Linked DNA regions of Homo sapiens: region 1 is linked to region 2. Evidence: promoter capture Hi-C in human tissues and cell types (Jung and others, 2019). All regions are on one chromosome and are shown on one strand. The core of a region is centred on a gene start or on the middle of the fragment in contact, and the rest is flanking DNA. Distances in the headings are between cores, read along the strand shown.

Region 1 (7,616 bases), core at 2,594-5,093, 41 kb after region 2:
CTGTGGTGGGCTCCACCCAGTTTGAGCTTCCCAGCTGCTTTGTTTACCTAATCAAGCCTGGGCAATGGCAGGCGCCCCTCCCCCAGCCTTGCTGCCACCTTGCAGTTTGATCTCAGACTGCTGTAATAGCAATCAGCAAGACTCCATGGGCGTAGGACCCTCCGAGCCAGGTGCAGGATATAATCTCCTGGTGTGCCGTTTTTTAAGCCCATTGGAAAAGCGCAGTATTAGGGTGGGAGTGACCTGATTTTCCAGGTGCCATCTGTCACCCCTTTCTTTGACTAGGAAAGGGAACTCCCTGACCCCTTGCACTTCTCCAGTGAGGCAATGCCTCGCCCTGCTTCGGCTCACACACGGTGTGCTGCACCCACTGTCCTACACCCACTGTCTGGCACTCCCTAGTGAGATGAACCCGGTGCCTCAGATGGAAATGCAGAAATCACCTGTCTTCTGCATCACTCATGCTGGGAGCTGTAGACCGGAGCTGTTCCTATTCAGCCATCTTGGCTGAACCAGGCCATCTTGGATCCACCCAAGTATTTTCTGGGTCTGGAGGGTCCTGGTTCTCTTATGGACTCAGCGATGTGAAGTCATAGAATGCTGAGGTGTGGTTAAACTTTGGTTTGATCTCATCCTCAGCCCGAACACCTTCCCCTCTCCCAAGGCAGCAGTGAAGGGATGGTTCATGGATACGACCTAGGGGAAGGAACAGGGACCCTGACAGTGTGTGCTTCCGGATTTCTGTCTCCGGAACTTGACTGCTCCTCACAACACATAAGGCAAAACTGTCATAAATGTAAGGAAAGAATTTTTCTACTGGAGGCTAGGGACTTCAGGTTGCCATGTTTTGAAGCCTCCTGAAAACTCTAAGGTAGACATCCACTTCTGGAAAAACAGTGAACCCGGTATGTTTCTGGCTATGATTGAAAATTCTTGGTAAAAACAGACATCTGTTTAAGTGCATGGCTGTGTTTCCTGTAGCATTAGAGAAATTCCACGAGATTAGGAAGCATGAAGCCAGGGTGAATACTCTGAGGGATCTGGTAGTTCTAGGAACTTCGGGGCCTTGGATTTAAGAACTTCATGGTGAAGACTAAATCAATTGAATCTCAGCATAAAGCTGAGACATCGAACGGCTTCCCACTCCATGAAAGAGTTGCCTCGAGAGGTTCCGTATGTTGGTAACAGCAGAGGGCATTAAAATGAGTCTCTCTCAGTCTGGGAGCTGGATGGGAAAAAAAATCATGCCTGAAATTTCGCACCCACGTGCCGTTGTCACCTAGGTGAGGAGTTTACATTTTAATTCTCACAATCCCCAGGACACCCCTGTGCCTAGAGCCCTCGGGGTAATCCTTCCACTCTGGCTTTCTCCCCTCTATCTCTTTCTTGGGAAAATGTTTGCCCCATATTGAGTCAACACTGGAAGATCCACATTGGTTCATCTCTGATTTCCAACTTTTGAATTTGTCCTTACAATAAATTGAAGTTTCAGTGACTTGGTGCTTCAGGGACCCGTCCCCACTCTTCCCAAGGAGAACAAACCATGGTTACCATGAAGTACAATAGGTCACTAAAACGTATTCCTCCAGTCTAACTGAAACTTCATGCCCTTCTGTCAACATCTCCTGCTGGCCCCATCCCTGCTCCTCCCCACCTACCCATAGCCCCTGGTAACCACCTTTATACTTTTTCTATGAGACCAGCTTTTTAAGATTCCAGATATAAGTGAGGTCATACAATATTTGTCTTCCTGTGCCTGTCTTCTTTCACTTAGCATAATGCCCCACTAGTTATATCCACATTGTCATGAATGACAAAAATTCCTTCCTTTTAAAGGCTGTATAGTATTCCATTGTGTATATACACATTTTCTCTACCCATTCATCCATTGATAGACAGTTAGTTTGCTTCCATATCTTCGCTATTGTGAATAATGCTGAAATAAATGTGGGAGTGAATATATCTCTTCAGCAAATCAATGTCAGTTCCTTTGGATATATACCCAGAAGTGGAATTGCCAGATAATATGGTAATTCTATTTTTAGTTTTTGAGGAACCCCCATACTATTTTTTTAACAGCTGTACTAATTTACATTCCCATTAACAGTGTACAAGTGTTCCCTTTTTATCTACATCTTCATCAACACTTGTTATCTTTTGTCTTTTTGATAACAGTGATTCCAACAGGTGTGAGGTTATATCTCATTGTGGCTTTAATTTGCATTTTCCTGATTCTTAGAGATGTTGAGCATTTTTCATATATCTGTTGGCTATTCATATCTCTTCATTTGAGAACTGTTCAGATCCTTTGCTCATTTTTAATTGAATTGTTTTCTTGCTGTTAAGTTGGTTGAATTCCTTATATATTTTTGATATTCACACCTAATCAGATGTAAGGTTGAGAAATGATTGATGTTTGTGTGTCGATCTAAATCCTCAGACCTTGCTGAACTCACTGTTATTAGTTCTTGGGTTTTTGTTGTAGATTCCTTGAGATTTTATACATAGACTACTATGGTGTGTGCAAATATTTCTTCATTTCTCATCTGTATATCTTCTAGTTCTCTTGCCTTATTGCCCTGGCTAGAACTTCATTATGTTGAAGAGTGGTGAGAGTGGACACTTGTAATTGCTCCAAATGTTAGGGGAAAACATTCAGTTATCACCATTAAGCCTAAAATTGGCTATAGGTTTTTTGTAGATGATGAAGTGACACTCTAATCCTAGTTTGCTGAGTTTTTTAAAAATTATGAACAGGTGGTAAAAATTTCCAAATGCTTTCTTTGTGTCCCAATTGATGCAATTGTGTGAGTTTTCTTCTACAGCCTGTTAGCACAGTGGATCACATTGATTTACTTCCAAATGTGGAGCTAGTCTTACATGCTTGGAATAAACTCCACTTGGTCATGGTTTGTAATTCTTTAATATATTGCTGGATTCTATTTGCTTTCTTTTGTTGAAGATTTTGTGTCTATGTTCATGAGGGGCATTGGTTATTTCTTTTTTTGTATTGTCGTTGTCTGGTTTTGCTATCAGGGTAATACTGGCCCCTTAAAATGAATTTGGAAGGGTTCTCTTCTCCACTATTTTCCAGAGATTATGTAGAATTGGTGTTCAGTCTTTAAAAATTTGGTAATTCTCTGCATCTGAAAATTTAAAATTCCAACTTTCTTTTGGCATTTTAAAACTACACATTCAATTCCCCTAATAATTATAGAGCTATCCAAATTATCTATTTTGTCCTGGCTGAATGTTGGTAGTTTGTGCTTTTTGAGGAGTTGGTCTGCTTCACATAAGCTGTTGAATTTCTATGTGTAGAGTTGCTTGCACCGTTTGCTCATTATCCGGTTCATGTCTGTGGGGTCTGTAGTGATATCCCCAAACTTGGTATCCATTCCTGAAGCTTATAGTTTGTATCCTTGTATCCTCTCTTTTTTTTCTTTGTTGGTCTAGCAAGAGGTTTGTTAATTTTACTGATTTTTTTTAAAGAACTAGATTTTTGTCTCATTTATTTTCTCTATTTTTTGTCTCTAATTTCACTGATTTCTGTTCTTATCTGGATTTTTTTCTTCTTCTGCTTATGTTGGGTTTGATATTTTGAATATATTTTTATAGCTTTGTATGTATTATGATTTATATTACATTTTAAGTATATTTTTATAGAGTTCCTAGTGATCTTTTATTGAATACCAGATAAAGAGTATAAAAAACTGAGAAAGGTTTTGAGTGATGTTACTTTCTTGCAGAGACCATTTGTTTTCCTTCTGCGAAACAGTTAGACAAGCAGCAGATCACATTGATCCAGTGAGGCAGTAAGATAAGAGGCCAGGCTTTATTCTTTGTGAAGGAGTCTCTATTTCTGGCCTGTACTTCTCCCAGTATATAGTCTTGAGGGGTTTCAATAGAAAGCCTTAAGTTTTTACCAAGCCCTTTCTTATTAATCCTAAAATTAAATATTTATTTTCCAGAGCTACAAAACCTCCATAATCTCTGTTTTGCTTTAAAGGCTCTTCATGGATGCTTTTTGCTTAGCTCCTTGTCCTCTTTCCCCAGGCAGTTTCATAATCTTCAAGGGAAGAGGAGCTGCTGCACACTGGACTCACTTCTCTGAGCTCTTCTTTTCCCTGGAAGCTTTGCCCTGCAAGCTCTGGCTGCCTTTGTCACCCTAAAGTCTGATTTTCGGAAGGAACTGCCAATGCCTCAGCTGCTTTCTGCTTGTGCTCTTGTTCTCTCTGTCGCTAACGAATGGGCAGAGGCCCCACGGGAGGAGAGTGGAGCGCTGGCACCTGATGCATTCATTTCCCTTCTCACCAGGATCCAGGCACCTCCTGTCCTGGACACCTGGGTTTCTCTCTAGTGCTTTCAACTGCTGTTTTGTGTTAATTTTTTCTGGCTTTCCTACTTGTTCTCAGTGATTCTGTAGCTCAAATATGAGCTGTTCCATCAGAACCAGAAGAGGAGTCGCAATACGTATTTGAAAAATACACGAATAAATTATCTGCAAATTAAAAATAATCAGCTCTCCAGGAGTAGCTTCTATGGTGGGTGATGGCGACTATCTGAGGCTGGTGTCACAGGGGTAAAAGAGTTTACCAAGAAACTTGTAGGTTTTAAAAAAAGGCAGATTTATTAAAGAAAGGAAGGAAGTACATTGCAAGAAGGCAATGGGCAGGCCAGGAGAAGAGGAGCTGACTGCAAGGAGACAAAGGCTTGCAGGGGATTTTACAGGATGGTTCCTGGGCCATGTGCTGAAGAGGGCTGCATACAATACCTACAATGCCAAGGTTGCAGTGAGCTAACTTGCATTTTTCTATCAGCTGAGGGTCTGGTGATACCTGGGCATGGGAAGATTGTGAGCTATATGCACAGGAGGGCTGTGTGTGCTGGACTGTGAAGAAATGCAGACTTGTAGCTTATCTGCTTTCTCTTTTTGCTTTCCCTTGGTCCTGCCACCCTGGCTCCTTTTCCCTGATTAGGACGCCACAGCTTCCATGTGTTTTGATTTGTTAGATCTGACATGGGCCAATGAATTGTTTTTTCTTTAACTATATACAATCCTATTTTTCCCCTCATATAAGCCAATCCTAATGGAATAGAATCATCCTTTTCAAAAGCTTTTTACCAGAGGTCTCCACACCACTCCCAAGTACAGCCTCCCATGCCTCACTCAGCTACAACCTGGCAAAAATCTCCAGCCCTGCAGAGACTGAGTGGTGCATTGAGTCCCTGATTGCTGTTTTCCAGAAGGATCCTGGAGAGGATGGTTACAACTGCTCTCTCCAAGACGGAGTTCCTAAGCTTCATGAACACAGAAGAGGCTGCCGTCACAAAGAAGCAGAAGGACCGCAGTGTCCTTGACTGCATGACGAAAAGACTGGATGTCAACAGTAACAGGCAGCTAGATTTCCAAGAATTTCTTAATTCAAAATTGGCAGCCTGGCTGTGCATTGCCATGACTCCCTCCTCAAGGCTATCCCACCCTACAAGCAGACCTGAGGGCCCCTTCGGCCTGGCCTCCAAAGCCACCCCCTTTCCTTCCAGCTTCCTGTCACCATCTCCTCCTCACAGCCCACACGTCCCCTGAGCCCAGCACACCTACCTCCTCTGGCAGGCCCCGCCTGCGGGTAGAAATAAAACAGTTTTCACTCGCATCGGTGTGAAGAGACCACCAAACAGGCTTTGTGTGAGCAACAAGGCTGTTTATTTCACCTGGGTGCAGGCGGGCTGAGTCTGAAAAGAGTCAGCGAAAGGAGATAGGGGTGGGGCCGTTTTATAAGATTTGGGTAGGTAAAGGAAAATTACAGTCAAAGGGGGGTTGTTCTCTGGCAGACAGGAGTGGAGGTCACAAGGTGCTCAGTAGGGGAGCTTTTGAGCCAGGATGAGCCAGGAGAAGGAATTTCACAAGATAGTGTCATCAGTTAAGGCAGGAACAGGCCATTTTCACTTCTTTTGTGGTGGAATGTCATCAGTTAAGGCAGGAACCGGCCATCTGGATGTGTACGTGCAGGTTACAGAGGACATGATGGCTTAGCTTGGGCTCAGAGGCCTGACAACGTCACATTTTTAAAACATGAAAAAAAAAAGCTTTTTATTAACTACTCTGCTTAATTCAACTCCTTACTTCATATGTAGAGTTGATATAGCTGAATGCCTGCTGGATAAGTCAATAAAGGAAACCCTGACACTGCCACTTTGCAATGATAAAATAACTCATCAAATTGAAGATTTAACTGCAAACATAAAAACTGAGTAAACACAGTCTCTTCACATACATTTGGACAAATCTACAGACATCGCTGAACTTCTGGTATTGCTCTAGCACCAGCCCCAGCTAATTATTGGAAAAGGGTTTCTTTATAAGTGAATGGTTGGCAACAAACCAAAGTGCTGTCATCTCATAAACCGGACACTGAAAAGATTTGCAAAACAAGTACAACAATGCCACTCTTCTCACTTAGATGTTTTGTTTTTAGAAAATTTATTTTTTTGTAAAAATATGCTATTTCATGTTAACATGCAATGGGCTTATTATTTTTAGTGACTTCCTAAAATAAATCTATTTTTAGATTTCTCAGTTTTAATTTCTCAGGTAGCAACTATCAACAGATAAAAGCCACATAAGCAAATGCTCTTAGGGGTTTTGAGACCAAAGTGTTTGAGAATCACTGTCCTAGAGTTTTAAAACATTGGAAAGGGGAGGGGAATGTGTACCCCTGTCATTAACAGTATCCAGCTGAGAGGGAGGCTCGGGCTGACTGACTCGGGGTTCTATTGGAACACAGCCAGGCCTGTCCATCATGTATTGTCTGAGGCTGCTTCCTGCTGTCATGGGAGAAACTTTTGGGCGGATGCTGCTGGGAGCCGGTCAGACTGGGCAGACTGGATGAGAACAGGAGGATGAGAATGAGCAAAGGCACCCACGAGGAGAACAGGAGGAAAACCCACGCGTTTGGGGGCGACTAGAAATGCGCAGTGAGCCTTGGGGTCCCCTGTGCTGCCCTCAGGCTGCGTTTGCCTTGAGTGAAATATTTTCTCCAAAAGGCAGAGGAGAGGACAAAGCCCCCTGTGCATCTCCATTCTCCACAGCATCCCCAGGATGGCAGGAGGAGGTCCCCGAGAACTGCACAAGCTGTGTTTGACCCAAGGGGACTTTTTCCTCTTGAGGAGGTTTGCTGGGTCATGTCAGTGATGAGGTTTAAGGACAGAGCCCAGGACCCTCAGCAGCCTGGATATGGCCAGACGGAGCTGGAAGCTTCTCACTGGCCGAGCTCTGGTCCCTTCCCCAAAACTGAAGGGTCATTACCCTATCCTAATCTCAGCTCGACTCATGCCAGGAGGACTCAGTAGTAGACTGTCCTACCACTGGGGGACACACTATTGTGTAACTGAGGGACACTAGGCTGTATCTGGGTGGACACTGCCCTGTTACTAGGGGACACTAGTGAGTAACTGGGGACACTGCCCTGTACTGGGGAACACTATCCTATTATCCTGTTACTGGGGGACTCCAGCTTATAACTTGGGGACACTATAATGGGGGACATTGCCCTGCAATTGGGGGACATTATCCTGTTACTGGGGGACACTATCTAGTAACTGGGGATACTACCTTATAA
Region 2 (7,643 bases), core at 1,658-4,157:
TACTCCAAGGTCATGAAAACTTAACCTGTTTTGCTTCTAGTAATCCTCTAGTTTTGGCTTTTACAATTAGGTCATTGATCTATTTTTTCTATTTTTTTTTTGTTTGTTTGGTATATGGTATGAGGTCAAGATTCAAATTCACTCTTTTGCATGTGGACATCCAGTTGTCTTAGCAGCATTGTTTGTTGAAAACATTCCTCTTTTCCCATGGAATTGTATAGTACCTGTGAAAATACATTGACCACAACTGTGAGGCTTTATTTCAAGAGTCTCAAACCTACCCCATTGATCCATCTTTCTATCCTTATGCAAGAGCCATGCTGCCTTGATGACTGTAGCTTTGCAGCCCATTTAGAAATTGGAAAACCTGAGTCCTCAAACTTTGCTTTTCTTTTTCAAGATTGTTTTAGCTATTTAGGGTCCCTTGAATGTCCACATAAATTTTAGGATCAACTTGTCAATTTTTGAAAAAAGAAATCTGAGATGTTGATCGGAATTGCATTAAATTGGTAGAACAATTTTTTTTTGGAGTGTTTCAATCTTCACAATATTAGGTCTTCCAATACATGAACATAGGATTTTTTCCCCCATTACTTTGGTCCTCCTTAACTTCTTCCAATGGTGTTTTGTAGTGTTAAGTGTCCAAGTCTTGTACTTTTTTGGTTGCATTTGTTCCCAGGAATTTTATTGTTTCCTTACAACCTTTTTGCTTGCTTTTTGCTGTTGTAAAGAAACACAGCTGACTATTGTGTATAGTCCTTGTGTTCTGCACTCTGCTGAGCTCGGTTATTGGCTCTAATAGTTGTGTGTGTGTGTGTGTGTGTGTGTGTGTGTGTGTCCCTCAGCATCTTCTGTATACAAGATGAGGTTTTCTGTGAATAGAGATAGTTTTGCTTCCTTTTTTCTTACCTGGATGGCTTTATTTTCTTTTCCTGTTATGTTATTCTGGCTATAGCTTCAGTGAAATGTTGCATAGAAGTGGTGGGTGTGGACATTCTTTTCCTGTTCCTGATCCTAGGGGAAAACATCCAGGTTTTCATAGTTAAGCACCGTGTTCACTGTGGGTAGATGGCCTTTATCAGGCTGAGAAAAGTCCCTTCTGTTCCTCCCTGTGCCAAACCAAAGCTGGGAAGCCTGTGGACACTTGGATTCCTCCTCACTCTGAGCCCAGAGATGGAGGGTGCACTTCAGCCTGTGTTCAGCCACACCGTCTTGGATCCTTGAAGCAGCACAGTTTCCAGTGTTGTCCTACAGAGCATCTCAGGGACACAGCTCATTCTAGTCTCGCTTCCCCATCTCCTGGCTTGACCCACAAACTGGGGACTGGCTGGACCCAGAGAGCACCCATTACATCCCTTCCTAGGCACTGAGGGCAAAGTTCTCCTTCTCTCCCAAACATATCCTCCCATGGGGAAGAAGTAGGAGTCCAAATTCCAACCAAGACAGACTGAATCCCACTGAGATACAGCTGGGACTCCCTGTGTACTAATGAGAGATACTCACTCATTCACTCATTCATTCCTCGTCTTCATTCATTCATACATACTGCTAGTGGTTCCTTCATTAATCAGTTCAACAACTGTTTCTGGAATGGGAGCTGGGCCTGGCACACTGTTACAGCAGTGGGAGCAATAAGCTATCAGGGAGGAGGGGAAGGACATGTGGCCAGTTTGCCAATGAGACAGAGGCTGGAAGAAAAGAGTCAGTGAGACCAAGGCTGAGGGATGGAGAATTTATTTAGTGCTGCACCCAGATGCATTTTGGATTTCCATAGATACATGTGATCATTTGGGTTGCAGGACATCCATCTGCAAATGTCGTGAAGCTCCTGGCAGGCAAAGGAAAGAAGGGTTTGCTGTCTCCCATGGAATTATCAAGAAGGGGAATTCCAGGCTCTTGCTTGGCATGAGGGCAGCCCCCAGTGCAGTTTGGCTCAGACATATGGGGGCATGTGGGAAAGAGGGGCAAAATTGCCTGGGTCTTGGGATATTCTTATAGGGAATGGGCAGGGAGTGGTTCATTCCATTTCCTCAGGGGCTGGAAAAAGACGCCCTGAGCCAAGGGCTCTTTTCAGATCCAGAAGGGGATGTGCTTCAAGGGTAGTCACTTGTTGGAAAGCACAGATCTTCAGGAGCTACCTGAGGTTTCCCACTAGAGCCTCAGATCTTGCACTGGTAGCACACAGGGACACAGCATCTGGACTGGGAGCAGCAGGGCTTGCAGCAGCTGGACTGGCAGCAGGATGACCCACAGCCTGAGGATGAGCAGCAGGGCTTGCAGCAGCTGGATTGGCAGCAGGATGACCCACGACCCGAGGAGGAGCAACAGGGCTTACAGCAGCTGCACTGGGAGCAGTAGGGCTTGCAGCAGCTGCACTGGCAGCAGGATGACCCACAGCCTGAAGAGCAACAGCAGGGCTTGCAGCAACTGCACTGGGAGCAGCCACAAGAACCACAGCCTCCCTTGGAGCCCCCACAGGAGCCACAGCCCCGCTTGCCACAGCTAGAGCAGGAACAGGCTGGAACACAGCAGCACACGGGCTTGCAGCAGTAGACGGGTGCACAGCAGCTGGGGCCACAGCCCCTGCAGCCAGAGCCACAGCTCCCACAGCTGGAGTCACAGCCTCCACAGCTGGAGCCACAGCCTCCGGAGCAGCCACAGCAGCCCATGGTTCTGGTGGATTGAGGGTGGAGCAGGTAGAGGAGCAGGTGAGAAGGAGGTGCAGGTGTGGAGCCCCCTGAGCCCCGGCTCTTTATATCCCACATAGGAACACACCATTGTTTCTCTTTCCGGTTGCTGTTACACAGCTCCTGGAGGTATGTCTTGATTGTTTTTCTTTGGCTATGTTGATATTTTCTGGATCCAAGTATGAGCCCTTCCTCCTGAGATGATTTCCTTGTGGAATTCATACTGAAAGGAAAAACAGCTCCAACGCTGGCTCACCTCAGGAGGAAGTGCAGCTTCCTCAAGGTCTGTCCCAGTTCCTAACTCTTATTCTTCCTGGGCCTTTGAGCAGATCCAGTCAGCTCCCGAGCCCCAGCTTCTTCTCCTGCAGAGGGGTGCTAGCAACACCAGCCTCCGGGGGTTGCCTGAGAATTACCTGAGATCATTCATGTATTGCGTCTTTTGCAACACCCCAACTCCCCATCCCCCATGCTCATGCAGGGTTCCGTCTTGGCAGGACTGGGTCAATGTTGTGGGTTTTTGACGTTTGATGCTGTGAGACGCCCTCCCTCCCCAGAGCAGTGCCACTCTCTACCTGATTCCTGCTGATTCCCCCAGGGATGTGGTATCTTCTCTGTGGCAACTGTGGCTGAGGATGGCAGGGTTCTCAGCAGTGGGGAAGGAGGCATCCTCTGTCTACCTCCTCCCTATTCCTGGACCAGGAATAGGCCAGGGCAATGGGCTCTGTGATTACAGAAGGGAATTTCACACAGCATGGTCCTTGGGGACACGTGAGCAGAGCTTCCCGCTGCTTTGAAACTATTGTCTGGACAGGTTCTTCTCTTGGAGGAAAACAAAGCTTGGAGCAGAACTTGGAGGGTGGTAGGGGGACCATGATGGGTACAAAGAGCAGCCAAGAGACAGGAAGGATACTCCAGCTAGGAGGCAGGGCACCAGCAATGGTGTGGAGGCTGCAGGTGCAGGAACCCATCGGTACGGTCCACACTCAGATGCGGTTAAAATGTGTGATGAGTGGATGTGCAGGCTTACGACATTCCAGTGTGCCTCAGCTGACTTGGGGTGAAATCCAAACCCCTGACACTGGCCCCATCCACCTCTCCAGCTGGATTTGACCGTGGCCTTGGCCACCCATCGTTGCAGAACCAATCAGCCCAAAGCTCAGTGGATCAGTAGTTCAGATCCGGCACTGGATGGTGGCACAGGCCGCATGATTTGTGGGGTCTCAATTGGGAAGGTACCAATGGCTAACGATGGCAGCATGGCTTGGCTGGGCTGTATTTTGGGACCTCAGTTCCGGCTGTCTGCAGGGTTCCTTGGTTTTTCTGTAAATTATGTCAGCTGGGGCTGGCTTGTCCAAGATGCTGTGTTCACACACCTATGGGATGGCTACAACAGGTGAGGCCGGACAGATCTCCCTCCCCTCCCCCACCTCACGGCCTCTTCCCACGGCTGGCTTGGGCTTCCTCACAGCATGGTGGGCTCAGGGCAGCTGTACTTCCTAGGAGGTCACTCGAGCAGAGGCTAGAAGGTGCCTTATGACCCAGCCTAGGAATCCTAGAGTATTTCTCCCTCCTCAAGTCACTGAGGCCAGCCCAGATTGCAGAGAGAAGAGAAAGTCCACCTCTCCGTGGGAGGAGAATGACTTGGTGTCATCTTCAGACTGCCTCAATCATTCTTCATCCAGCCCTGGATTGGTGCCGGGGCCACACCGCACTCCTCCTTACGACCTGTGTGCTGGCAGTTCCTTACATGGAACAGACTCACCCAGGACCGCCCTGGACTGCGTCCCTCCTGTCTGCCCAACTCAGATCCACCTCTGACACCCCGTCCCGAGATAGCTACCCCCACCACCTTGCACTTTCTGTTTCATTTATTGATTCCCACGATGCCAAGCTGGCTCTGCTCTCATCCTTGTTTGTTCTTAGAGGTGTGTGTCCCACTCCAGGGGGGTGTGAGTTCTGAAGGGGCAGCGACTTTATCCCACACGCAGCCATGTAGCTGTGTCACCAACACCTGGACATGCTCCATCATCGTCATTGAGAGAGGGAGGTGTTAACTGAAGAAGGACGAGGTCGTCAATTTGGAAAGGAGCGCTTTACTTCTCATAAAGTGCTGCGGGCTGAGTGTGGCTGTTCTGACTGGTTGGGAGGCGCAGCCTCTGGTAGGAAGCTGGAAACAGACACTTGGAGGGAGGGAAGAATAAAGCAGAGATCTACACTGAGTGGGGGTGGCTGAATATGCATATTCAATAAGCTGTGGGAGGGACATGAATATTGATAAGAGGAGAAACTGAGACATGAGGCCAGCTGGACTTCTTGGGTCCCGTGGGGACTTGGGGAACTTTTCTGTCTTACAAGAGGATTGTAAAATGCACCAATCAGGAACTTTCCTGTCTTGCAAGAGGATTGTAAAACACACCAATCTGCACAGGATTCTGAAAGTAGCCAATCGCAGGGAGGATTGAAAAAAAGGCACTCTGATAGGACAGAAACGGAACATGGGCGGGGCCAATAGGGGAATAAAAGCTGGCCACACAGCCAGCAGCGGCAACCCACTCGGGTCTACTTCCACGCTGTGGAAGCTTTGTCCTTTCGCGAATAAACAATAAACCTTGCTGCCACTGACTCTTTGGGTCTGTGCCATCTTTAAGAGCTGTAACACTCACTGCGAAGGTCCGTGAAAGTCCATGGGTGCATTCTTGAAGTCAGCGAGACCACGAACCCACCAGCAGGAACCAACTGCAGACCCAAAACCAGGCATATGCGCAATCCAGCTTCACCCCCTCTCTATGTGCAAAAACCAGAGGTGTTAGCCTGATCTGAGGGTGGAGCTTTTGGCCCTCTGATGTCAAAAGGTGAAGCAGCGGACTCAGAAGACTTCCTTGCGCCTCTTCCGTAGAATGGCCAGGGCCTCTCCGTGGTGGATCTCCTATCAAGAAGGAGGGGGCAATGTCAGGGGTACACTGATCTCCTCAGTGCAGTCTCCACAGAATTGGTTTCTGTTTTCCCTGAGGGGAGGGAGCTGGGTCATGGCTGGCCAGGGAGTAGGAGAAGGGCGCAAGTCCAGCTTCCCATCCCCCCGTAGCCAGGAACTCAGCTTCCAAGGTTTCCCGGTTAACCAAACATAACATTCTAAGACCTCCTCCCCGACCATCTGAATGGACTTCCTCCTCAGCCAGGGCTGTTTTAAAATTTAACCTGAGACACTATGATGGGCAGTGGGGGTCAGACATGCCTCATTCTACCTCTCTGGCATTAACATCCACACAGACTTTAAGTCCGATAACAAACGTCTCACAACCTCTTCTCTCTGAAGCCTGCTACCTAAAGGCTTCCTCTGCAAATAACAACCTGGGTCTCCATGATCCTTTATCCTAACCCAGACATTCCTTTCTGTTGATCCCAGGTCTTTAGACAAGCTCAACCAACTGTCAACCGGAAAATTTTTACATCTACCTATAGCCTGGAAGCACTCCCCACCCTTCAAGTTGTCCCACTTTTCTGGACCAAACCAATGTAATGTCGACAAAAAGAGTCAAACTCTGTAAAATATTTGAAGAGAGATTTATTCTGGGCCCAATATGAGTGACCATGGCCTGAGACACAACCCTCAGGAGGTCCTGAGAACATGGGCCCAAGGTGGTCATGGTACAGCTTGGTTTTACACATTTTAGGGAGGCAGGAGACATCAATCAAATACATTTCAAAATTACATTGGTTTGGTCCAGAAAGGCGGGACAACTCAAAGCGGGTGGTGGGGGATGGGGGGTGAGGGGGTTCCAGGCTATAGGTAAATTTAAACATTTTCTGGTTCACGGTTGGTTGAGTTTGTCTAAAGACCTGGGATGGATAGGAAGGGAAAGTTCAAGTTAAGATAAAGATTGTGGAGACCAAAGTTCTTTTGAAGTCTGATAGTGGCTGCCCTTAGAGACAATAGATGACAAATGTTTCCTATTCAGACCTTAGTTAATCTCTTTAGGACTGGGAGGGTCTGGAAGAAAAAGATCTAGCTATGTTAATAGAGATTCTTTGCAGATCCAAATTTTCCCCCACAAAGGACGCTCTGCAGGGCCATTTCAAAATACAGCAAAGAAACATGTTTTGGGGTAAAGTATTTTGATTTTCTTCCTTGTCTCATAATGTTATGCCAGAGTCGGGTTGGAAAGTAAGTCACAATATTTAGGGCTAAACAAAACCTGTCTGTTGAGAGTTTATGATTTGTAGGGCATGCGCAGACCCCTTAGATAGGAATTTGAGCAAGATTAAAAAAAACAACAACAGAGTTTAGGCCTTAGTATTTCTTAAATGTATTTGATTAAAGTCTCATGTCTCCCTAAAATATATAAAACCAAGCTGCACCCCAAACCTCTTGGGCACCTGCTCTCAGGACCTCCTGAGGGCTGTGTCACGGGCCATTTGTCAGTCATGTTCGGCTCAGAATCTTTTAAAATATTTTACAGAGTTTGACACTTTTTGTCGACACCCCCTTGGCCAAGAGGGGTCCCGTTCAGTCAGTGGTTGCGGGGGCGAGGCTAGGATTTCCTTCCTATTTCTCAGGGGAAGGCTCTTGCTTCTGCCTGCTGCTCACGTGTTGAGTGAGTTCCTCTGGTTGGCAGCTGGGCTTGAAACCGCCTTTGCAAAGTTATGACTGAGACAGTGAGAGATCTAACTTAGCCCACTCCACCTTGCTTCTAATCTCCAAGCTGTCCTTGTTCATTCCTGGGTGTTGGCTGAACTAACTTTGGGAGAAATTTAGTTGGTAGTTTATAGTTTAAACAAAGACAGTAACAACCCTTTCCCAAAGCAGACCACCTTCTTGCCTGGGGACTAGACTAACATTAGCCACAAGATTAGAAATTACAGTTTAGGAGTCATGTAGCCAGAGGTCATTTACAAGATTCTGACCCTCCCTGCACTTGATGGATCAGGTAGCACCACCCAGATCAATAAACTGGCTCA

The links. Contacts are between HindIII fragments. The study calls those that stand out against the background at their distance.
Region 1: a contact is called between a fragment that was not itself captured here and the fragment with the promoter of KRTAP5-9 in region 2, in 3 of the 25 tissues and cell types used here (dorsolateral prefrontal cortex, mesendoderm cells and thymus).

What each region holds. Positions count from the first base shown.
Region 1 is chr11:71,503,941-71,511,556 of GRCh38, reverse strand. It overlaps the pseudogene S100A11P3. Among named protein-coding and RNA genes, the nearest start is that of KRTAP5-7, 20 kb to the left of the region's middle. RefSeq lists an enhancer at 5,596-6,186. The HindIII fragment of the contact is 5,651 bases long and covers 1,018-6,668 here.
Region 2 is chr11:71,543,684-71,551,326 of GRCh38, reverse strand. It overlaps KRTAP5-9 (keratin associated protein 5-9), which reads right to left and starts at 2,907. Exons shown (of 1, transcript NM_005553.4): 1 at 1,719-2,907. The coding sequence starts at 2,669. The coding sequence ends at 2,160. RefSeq lists enhancers at 894-943, 2,342-2,401, 1,944-2,488, 2,489-3,034. The HindIII fragment of the contact is 7,685 bases long and covers 1-4,395 here.